Regions from separate parts of the Homo sapiens genome. Here region 2 is linked to region 1. Evidence: promoter capture Hi-C in 16 types of primary human blood cells and fetal thymus (Javierre and others, 2016). All regions are on one chromosome and are shown on one strand. The core of a region is centred on a gene start or on the middle of the fragment in contact, and the rest is flanking DNA. Distances in the headings are between cores, read along the strand shown.

Evidence for each region. Contacts are between HindIII fragments. The CHiCAGO score rates a contact against its expected background, and 5 or more counts as called.
Region 2: the fragment with the promoter of HAUS5 here is called in contact with the fragment with the promoter of LINC01531 in region 1 in 5 of 17 cell types (M0 macrophages, M2 macrophages, M1 macrophages and 2 more); the score reaches 10.2 in M0 macrophages.

What each region holds. Positions count from the first base shown.
Region 1 is chr19:35,402,913-35,407,942 of GRCh38, reverse strand. LINC01531 (long intergenic non-protein coding RNA 1531) reads right to left here and starts at 2,336. Exons shown (of 5, transcript NR_040046.1): 1 at 2,262-2,336; 2 at 1-1,358. The HindIII fragment of the contact is 14,783 bases long and covers 535-5,030 here.
Region 2 is chr19:35,610,710-35,615,739 of GRCh38, reverse strand. HAUS5 (HAUS augmin like complex subunit 5) reads right to left here and starts at 3,005. Exons shown (of 19, transcript NM_015302.2): 1 at 2,848-3,005; 2 at 1,948-2,010; 3 at 1,840-1,872; 4 at 1,681-1,705; 5 at 593-698; 6 at 354-513. The coding sequence starts at 2,945. HAUS5-DT (HAUS5 divergent transcript) reads left to right here and starts at 3,076. Exons shown (of 2, transcript NR_186318.1): 1 at 3,076-3,122. RefSeq lists enhancers at 2,868-3,127, 2,716-3,271. The HindIII fragment of the contact is 7,658 bases long and covers 1-5,030 here.

The DNA of each region.
Region 1 (5,030 bases), core at 1,087-3,586:
GCCAGTCTCTTGGCTCTTCAGCACCTCCAGGTCCCCACTTGGGGCCAGAGAGCATGATCTGCACAAAGTGCCAGTGGCAGAAGGTGGTGACCGCCATGGGGGTGAAGAAGAGCTCCAAGCACAGCTCCAGCTGCAGCACCACGGCCAGCTGCTCTTGGGGGACGTTCTCATAGCAGATACGGAGCCCTCTGGCATATCTCATCATCTTCTTGGTAAAAACTAGACAATGAGCCAGGCATGGTGGCTCATGCCTCCCAGCACTTTGGGAGGCTGAGGCAGGCAGATCACTTTAGGTCAGGAGTTCGAGACCAACCTGGCTAACATGGTGAAACCCCGACTCTACTAAAAATACAAAAATTAGTAGGGAGTGGTGGCACATGCCTGTAGTCTCAGCTACTCGGGAGGCTGAGGTAGGAGAATCACTTGAACCTGGGAAGCAGAGGTTGCAGTGAGCCAAGATAGCACCACTGCACTCCAGCCTGGACGACACAGCAAGACTCCATCTCAAGAAAAAAAAAAAAGAAAGAGTAAGCTTAAATCTCCTCGAAGTGATCATTGAAAGGTAAACATTTAAAATAAAACTTGTGGCTGGGAGCAGTGGCTCACACCTGTAATCCCAACACTTTGGGAAGCCAAGACAGGAGGATTGCTTGAGTCAAGGAGTTCAAGACCAGCCTGGGCAACACAGTGAGAGCCTTTCTCTACAAAACGTTAAGAAATTAGCTGGGCATGGCGGTGTGCACCTGTAGTCCTCGTTACTCTGGAGGCTGAGGCAGGAGGATCACTTGAGCCCAGGGGCTTCAAGGTTACAGTGAACCATGGTGGCACCACTGCAAACCAGCCTGGGCGACAGAACAAGACCCTGTCTCAAAAAAAAAAAAGTTTAAAAATGAATAAAATAATGAGGCCTTAACCTATGACAGATAGCATATCACCTGCTGGCCCATCTGTACATCTCATTCTGCATTCGAGAACTTCAGAAGTAGAGGACCAGATGAATGGGAGTGGCCCTGCCGCCACGGGGCTGAGCTCCACCGCTTTTGTCCTGCTCCTCCTCGCCAGGCCCTGACCATCTCTCCACTGACTTGTCCTGGCCCCTTTTCCATTTCTGTGGCCTCTTCCCTCTCCTCCTTGGAGAGTAGCCTGTCCTCTGCTCCCTGCATGCTCTCCTTCCATCCCGTCTCTTCCTGGGGTTATGATCCCAGCAACCTCTTCCCTGAGCCCAGGCGAGGTCAGGTCCCTTGCCTTTTCCTGCAGGTAGATGGGTGGGTTTTCAAAGATGTCTGGTTTCAGAAGCCGGTGGCATCTTGTCTAACTGGACCACCTTTTCCTTTTCCACCAACGGCAGGCTTTTATACCTGGAAGAGTCATGTGGTCAAAAAGAGGAAAGTCAGTGGTTGAGCTCTTTCTAAAGCAGCTTGACCTTCTGGGTCTCCCACCAGATTTTGTCCCCAACAGACTTATTTCACCCAGAGTCCAATTTTTTTTTTTTTGAGGCAGAGTCTTGCTCTATCACCCAGGCTGGAGTTTAGTGGTGCGATCTCAGCTCACTGCAACCTCTGCCTCCCTAGTTCAAGTGATTCTCCTACCCCAGCCTTCCAAGTAGTGGGATTACAGGTGTGCAACACCACGCCCGACTAATTTTTGTATTTTTTGTAGACAGGGTTTCACCATGTTGGCCAGGCTAGTCTCGAACTCCGAACCTCAAGTGATCCGCCTGCCTTGCCTCCCAAAGTGCTGGGATTACAGGCGTGAGCCACTGTGCTCAGCCCAGAATCCAAATTTGAACAGTTTTTTCAGGCTTCCTCCTCCCCCTACATTCCAAGAGGTTGAATTCTGTTTCCTTCCCATGGGCAATTATCCCACACGACTACACGCACATCCATCTCTCACTTCCGCTTTTTCTTTCTTTCTTTCTTATTTTGTTGTTGTTGTTTTGAGACAGGGTCCCACTCTGTTGCCCAGGCTAGAGTTCAGTGGTGCAATCGCGGCCCACTGCAGCCTTCACCTTTCGGGCTCAAGTGATCCTCACACCTCAGCCTCCCGAGAAGCTGGGCCACAGGTGCACGCCACTGCATCTGGCTAATTTTTTGTATTTTTGGCAGAGACGGGGTTTCACCATGTTACCAAGAGTTGTCGAACTCTTGAGCTCAGGCAGTCCACCCGCTTTGGCCTCCCAAAGTGCTAGGATTACAAGTGTGAGCCACCATGCCCAGCCCCAAGTTTGTTTTTAGAAAAAAAAACCTAGCATTGTCCCTTGCCTATAACAGACACTCAAATCCTTGTGGAATGTAAGGATGGAGGTTGGATGTGCCTGTGAATACTTGCTAGCTGATGACACAAGCAAAGAATGTGTCAGAACCTGCGCCTTTTGTCTCCTGTCCTTTATCTGCATTCTGTTGCCCGGGTTACTGGTATGGGGACATCTTTGGTGCTGAGGTCTAGGTTCCAATGAGTCAAAGGGAGAATTCAAACTAAGTTGTCTGGCAGCACCCCAAGACTGTGCTGACCTCACACACAGCTGTATCACGGGAGTGGGCAGTGCATCATCTCAAATCCAACTCAACTGAGCAATGGTTCGGGCTGAGTCACACCATGTATGAATCGGGGGGCGGGGGTATGTGGCTCCTCTCCAACAAGCCACACTGTCTGCTTCCCTGTCACAAAACACATGGAGCCGTTACTCTGTGTGAGGTACTGTTCTAGGAGCTGGAGACAAGAGTGAACAGGATGAACAGAAAACAAGTAGACAAACCAACAAGGCAATTTTACAGGAAGAAAGGAAGTAGGCCAGGCAAGGTGGCTCACGTCTGTGATCTCAACGCTTTGGGAGGCCCAGGCAGGAGGACTGCTTGAGGCCAGGAGTTCAAAACCAGCCTGGTCAACATAGCGATACCCCGTCTCTACAAAAAGTGAGATAAAAAGTCAGGCATGGTGGCTCACACCTATAATCCCAGCTACTTAGGAGGCTGAGGCAGGAGGAGGATTGCTTAAGGCTGGGTGTTTGAGACCAGCCTGGGCAACATAGTGAGATCCCCTGTCTCTACAAAAAAGGATAAAAATAAAAAATTAGCCAGGCATGGTGGTGCACACCTGTAGTCCTAGATACTCAGGAGGCTGAGGCGGGAGGATCACTTGAGCCTAGGAGTTGGAAATTAAAATGAACTATGATGGCACCACTCCAATCCAGTGGTCCTGTCTGGGGGAAAAAAAAGGGAAAGAAAATAAATCGGCTAGGCGTGGTGGGGTTCATGCCTGTAACCCCAGCACTTTGGGAAGCTGAGGCGGGCACATCACTTGAGGTCAGGAGTTTGAGACCAGCCTGGCCAACATGGTGAAACTCTGTCTCTACTAAAAATACAAAAATTAGCCAGGTATGGTGGCGGGCACTGGTAATCCCAGCTACTCAGGAGACTGGGGCAGGAGAATCACCTTAACCTGGGAGGCAGAGATTGCAGTCAGCCGAGATCATGCCACTGCACTCCAGCCTGGGCGACAGAGGAAGACTCTGCCTCAAAAAAAAAAAAAAAAAAGGACCAAAAATCAAACAACAACAACAACAACAACAAAAAGCAAGCAGGGAAATTGAGAGAGAGAGAGAGAGAGATGGGCAGGGCCTGTCAGGAAAGGCCTGGGACATTTGAATGGGTGAGAAGGAGCCACTATCTGAAGAGCGTTCCAGGTAGGGGCACCAGCGGGAACTTAGCCTGAACCATGGCTCGGTTGAGTTGGACTTGAGATGTCGCACCGCCCACTCCCATGATGCAGCTGTACGTGAGGTCAACACAGCCTTGGGATGCTGCAAAACAGCTTAGTCTGAATTCTCCTTTTTTTTTTTTTTTTGAGACAGAGTCTCACTCTGTTGCCCAGGCTGGAGTGCAGAGGCGATCTCGGCTCACTGCAACCTCCATTCTCCTGGGTTCACGCCATTCTCCTGACTCAGCCTCCTGAGTAGCTGGGATTACAGGCACTCACCACCACACCTGGCTAATTTTTGTATTTTTAGTAGAGATGAGGTTTCACCATATTGGTCAGGCTGGTCTCGAACTCCTGAGCTCAGGTGATCAACCCACCTTGGCCTCCCAAAGTGTTGGAATTACAGGCGTGAGCCACTGTGCCCGGCCTGAATTCTCCCTTTGACCTCATGGAACCTAGGCCTCAGCACCAAGGATGTCTGAAGCTCTGAAGCTCTGAGGTGGGAGGAGGCTGGAGGAGGGGCCCTGGCTGCTCTGCCTGCAGCCACAGGGAGAGTGCACTGGAGCCAGCTGTAAAGTGCTGACTTTAGTTAGGAGCTGTTTGCCCTCAGCTGATGGTTACCTCATCCGTTGATCATATCGTCCTCTCCTGATCTGTGATACGTTCTGATAAGCTGCTGCAGCCAGTCAGAAACTGACAGCCCCCTTCTGGTTCCATGCCCTTGTGGTATCTTGACAACAGAAACCCACATTGAGCCACACTGTCCTTGTCAGCATCCCGCAATGACAGATAGGGTAAAGGTCAGATATGGGGCACCCAAAACAGAATGGGAAGCATTTTAAGATGAAAGGGGGCCAGATGTGGTGGCTCATGCTGGAAATCCCAGCACTTTGGGAGGCTAAAGCAGAAGGATTGCTTGAATTCAGTTGTTTGAGACCAGCCTGGGCAACATAGCGGTAGCCCATCGCTAAAAAAATTAAAAAATTAGCTGAGTGTGCTGGTGCATGCTTGTATTTGCAACTACTCAGGAAGCTGAAGTGGGAGGACTGCTTAAGCCCAGGAGTTCCAGGCTGTAGTGAGCTGCAATCACGCCATTGCACTCCAGCCTGGGCGACAGAGCCAGACTCCATTTCTTTAAAAAAAAAAAAAAAAAGCTGGGCCCAGTGGCTCATGCCAAAGTGCTGTAATCCCAGCACTTTGGGAGGCTGAGGCGGCAGGTCACTTGAGGTCAGGAGTTCCAGACCAGCCTTGCCAACACGCTGAAACCCCATGTCTGCTAAAAATATAAAGATTAGCCAGGTGTGATGGCTGGCACCTGTAATCCCATCTACCCA
Region 2 (5,030 bases), core at 1,756-4,255, 210 kb before region 1:
CTATGATAGGCTTTTCTTCACAGCACTCATCTCTACCAGAAATGATAGGGTCTGTTTGGTTCCTACTTTACTATCTGTCTTCTCTGTGTCACAGCATAAGCTCCAGGAGGGCAGGGACATGTTCTCTGTTTGTGGCTGTTTCCCCAGGGCTGGTGTTCTAGGTATACAGGTGGTATCATTCTAGGCACTGAAAATACAGGTGACTGAGATGACAAAACCTCCTGGCCTCATGGACATTCCATCCTAATGGTTCCAGAATTCTGGAACCCAAGAAGGGATCAGGGCAGAGCCCTGAGGTCTCTAAGAGAATGTCTGGCCACCCAGCCTGGTGAGGGTGGGTCCCTGAGGCCCACCTCTCCATGTCCTGCAGGCGCCTCAGTTGATTCTGCAGCCGCTGCATGGGATCTCGGAGCGTATGCTGCTGTCTTCGCATGGCCCCAGCTTGGGCCCGGAGGAGGAGAGCTCGACGCTGGGTGTCTTGAGTGTGCTGACGTGCCTGCTCCATGGCCGTGTCTGTGGGAGGAACAGGGGTGGCCATCAGCACCTTTCCCGCCCCACATTCTGGTGCCCATCTTCTGGCCCCATGGCTCACCCTGAGCCTCAGTGTCTCGCTCCATCAGCTCCAGGCTCTGGTCGAGTTCCTGGATTTCTGCCCGCAGGCGGGTCACAGCAGCTTCCAGCTCTAACTTCCGACGGACCTGGGAGGATCAGATTCAGGGTCAGATGGTCTGATCGGGGCTCAGCCTGGCCTGTCTTTTGGGGGTACCAGGCTCCTCAACTGGTGGCAGAGGGTTTTTGCTCAGCAGTTTCTGTGTCTGACACAGAAGCATTAGGGTATTGGCTCCCTCCCTCCTTCCTCCTAGGATTGTCTTACCCACACTTCCAGCCTGTTTCCTGTCTGTGCTGGTGACAACCACATCTTTGTCCCAGTACTGATCTCTTCCCGGAGCCCTGCACCTAGAAGTCCCAAGGCCTCCTGGAAGCCTCCCCTTAGGTGTCATATGAGCCCCTTGCACCCATTGGGTCCCACACTGGCCTCAGCATCTCTCCCATACCTGTCCCATCATCTCTTCTCACCAGCTTTGATGCCACATATCCAGGTCCCACCTCTCTGCGCCCAGCTAATTAATGCTCTTTATTTATTTTTTCTTTTTTTGAGATAGAGTCTCGCTCTATTGCCCAGGCTGGAGTGCAGTAGTGCGATCTCAGCTCACTGCAACCTCTGCCTCCCAGGTTCAAGCGATTCTCCTGCCTCAGCCTCCCAAGTAGCTAGGATTACAGGCGTGTGCCACCACGCCTGGCTAATTTTTTATTTTTATTAGAGACAGGGCTTCACCGTGTTGGCCAGGCTGGTCTCGAACTCCTGACCTCAGGTGATCCGCCTCCCAAACCACATCTTTGTCCCAGTACTGATCGCTTCCTGGAGCCCTCAGGTGATCTCATCACCTGAGATGAGGCCTCAGGTGAGCCTCCCAAAGTGCTGGGATTACAGGTGTGAGCCACTGCACCTGGCTGAGCTAATGCTGTTTCCACTGGACTTTAAGCCCTATGAGGATGGAGATCAAGGCTGTCTTGTGACCCATTGTCCCCAGCATCACCCAGCACCTGGTTGGGCTTAGAGCAGAAGATCTACAAGTCATTTTTCGGATGAAAGAGAATCTTGTAGCATATGCTTCTCACCTGTGGACTGTCCTGGTGGCCATACCTAGGAAAACGAGGCCAGAGTCAGCGGATGAGTGGGGCTTCTAGGGGGGAGGGCAATAGGTGTGATGCTGTGGTGGGGACAGGGCTAAATGGGAGTGGGGAAGACAGGAGGGGATAGCTTTAAGAAGCAGTTACCAGAGTAGGTTTCCCCGGATCTTCTTGACAGTCCTACAGTGCAGAGGCAGAAAGAGGAGTTACTATGGGCCTCACCTGTGCCCCCTCCCCTGCTCTAGCCCAGCTTACCTCTGACTGTGCACATGCTGCAAGATGTAGGCCCAGATGTCAGCCCCCTGGCCCAGACACAGCCTGTGGGGACAGTGTGTAAGCATATGCCTGGGGCAGCACACAGGGTGTGGGATCCTCATTCCTAGGGTGATGGTGGTAGGGAGTTTTTACTAGGGAGTTCTCACTTCTTGAGGAGGGAAGGCCCAAACTTTTTTTTGCCTTTTTTTTTTTTTTTTTTTTAAGAGACAGTCTCGCTCTGTCGCAGTGGTACGATCATAGCTCCTTGCAGCCTCAACCTCCTGGGCTCATGCGATCCTCCCACCTCAGCCTCCAGAGTAGCTAGGACTACAGGCAGGCACCACTACACCCGGCTAATTGGTAAAACATTTTTTTTGTAGGGACTGGATGTTTGCACTAAGTGTGGTGTTATTCTCATTCCCTGGGAAGGCGGGTGGTGGGGGAGCGCGGGAGAGGCGGGTGCTCCCTTTCTCCTGGGAGTGGGTTATCCCAGTCACATCCAGAGGTGGAGGTGGGGGATGTACTGCCAGGAAGTGCCATCTCATGACCAGACGTGGGGCATCACTCCTACAGCTTCAATCCCCGATGGGGTGGCCACGGCTAACTCCTGAGTGTCCTTCTTGGTTAGGTTAAGGGAGGGAGGGGAGGTGCTGCGGGGACAGCCTCACTCTGGAGATCCTATTTCCATAAGGAGCGAGGTCTTAGCTAACTCGTGGAGGATCCTCACCAGTGCTAGGGACCTCACTCTGGGGAGCCTCCCAGGGTAGGGAGCCCTCAGTAAGTCGGGTCACTCTCGATGGGGAATTGGGGGGAGTCGAGTCCTCAATGAGGGGTGGAGTTCTCACTCCCGGAGACTCAATCTCCAGGGTGGGGTGTCCTCACTCCAGGAGCGGTCCTCACCTGCGCAGCGTCGATTCCGGGGCCCGGGCCGCCACGGGCACCCCCATCTCTTCGACCGCCCAGCAACCCAGTTCCCGCGCTTCCTGCGCTAGCTCCATGACAGCGCCGCGGCGGCGACACCGCCTCCCTCAGCCTCTTCAAGTGTGGCGCCCGCCTCTGACGTCACGGGCGCGCCAACAGTGACGTCATCGGTTGCCGGGCAGACAGCGGGCTCGGGCGCTGCATAGTAATCTTAGCGCGGTCAGGCTGGGTCTTGCAGCGCTCACTCTTCCCAGGTAGGTCTCCTTGAGTGGAAATGAAAAGGGCGTGGAGAGACTGCAGCCCCGCCCGCCTTCCCTCGTTCTCCCGCTCACTACCAGCTAACCCGAAAGAGGCAAAACAGTCCTTGATGCTTCCATTTATTTTCTTTTTCTTCTTTTAACTAAACACTTTTATTTTAATAGAGATGGGATCTCACTTGTTGCCCAGGCTAGTCTCAGCTTCTGGGCTCTTGAACTCCTGGGCTCAAGCGATCCTCCCGCCTCGGCCTCCCAAAATGTTGGGATTACAGGCGTGAGCCACCACGCTCACCCCCTTTATTTTCTTGACAAAATGGGACTTGCGTCCTAGGAGGACTGGAACCAGGCAATGAGATCCTGGACTTACTGCTCTTTGATTTCAGAAACAGGTGTCTCATGTCTGAGTGGAGGGTAGGGGCAGAGAGCATGACCCTAACATTTCCCTGGCATGCGTTTTCCCATTCATTCGTGCTTACCATTCCATAAACTCAGGGAGCTGACCCTGTGCTGGGTGATGCTGGGGACACCATGGTGACCACAACAGCCCTGGTCCCTATTGTACGGAGCTCACAGTTGAGTGGGGAGACAGACGCACCACCAGGTAGGGGTGGTAAAAATAAGCAGCAGGGGTGGGTCAATTTGGGACACAGCAGGTGTGAGAGGTCTGCGCTAGACCAGCAGTCCCCAACCTTTTGAGCATCAGGGACTGGTTTCATGGAAGACAATTTTTCCACAGTCTGGGGGATGGAGGGTGGGAGCAGTGGATGGTTTCGGGATGAAACTGTTCCACTTCAGGTCGTGAGGCATTATATTCTCTGTCTCTCTCTCTCTTTTTTTTTTTCTTCCCTGTTTTTTTTTTTGAGGTGAAGTCTCCCTCTTTCACCCAGGCTGGAGTGCAGTGGCCCGATCTCGGCTCAGCGCAATCTTTGCCTCCGGGGTTCAAGCGATTCTACTGCCTCAGCCTCCTGAGTAGCTGGGATTACAGGCGCCCGCTACCATGCCCAGCTAATTTTTGTATTTTTAGTAGAGACGGGGTTTCACCATGTTGGCCAGGCTGGTCTTGAACTCCTGACCTTAAGTGATCAGCCCATCTCAGCCTCCCAAAGTGCTAGCATTACAGGTGTGAGCCACCATGCCCCGCCTAAGCATTAGATTCTCATAAGGAGTGCGCAATCTAGATCCTTCGTATGCACAGTTCACAATAGGGTTTGCGCTCCTGTAAGAATCTAATGCCGCTCCTGATCTGGCAGGAGGTGGAGCTCAGGCAGTGATGCTCACCCATACGCCACTCACCTCCTGCTGTGCAGCCTGGTTTCTAACAGGCCATGGACTTGTATTGGTTCACGGCTTGGGGTTTGGAGACCCCTGCCCCTGCCCTAGATGAAATACTTCTCTGATGCTGACTAACCAACCATGCTTAAAAGCAAGGCCCGAAAGGATCAAGCTATTATTTAGCTGCATTCCAGAACAAAATTCAAGAATATTTATAGAGATTAAAAAAAATCCAGCATCCAACACTGTAAAATTAACAATATCTGACATCAGTAAAAAATTATAAGGCAATGGCTGGGCGTGGTGGCTCATGCCTGTAATCCCAGCACTTCGGGCGGTTGAGGTGGGAGGAATGTTTGAGGCTAGGAATTTGAGACCCACCTGGGCACCACAGCAAAACCTTGTCTCTATTAAAAATTAAAAAAAATTAGCCAGGCGTGGTGGTGCACGCTTGTAGTCCCATCTACTTGGGGGGTTGAAACAGGAGGATCAGTTGAGCCTGGGAGGTTGAGGCTTCAGTGAGCTATGATGGCACCACTGCACTCCAGCCTGGGTGACCCTGTCTCAAAGCCAAAACAAAACCAAACCAAAATAAAATAATCATCTGTATTCATGTTTCATAATATCCTCAAT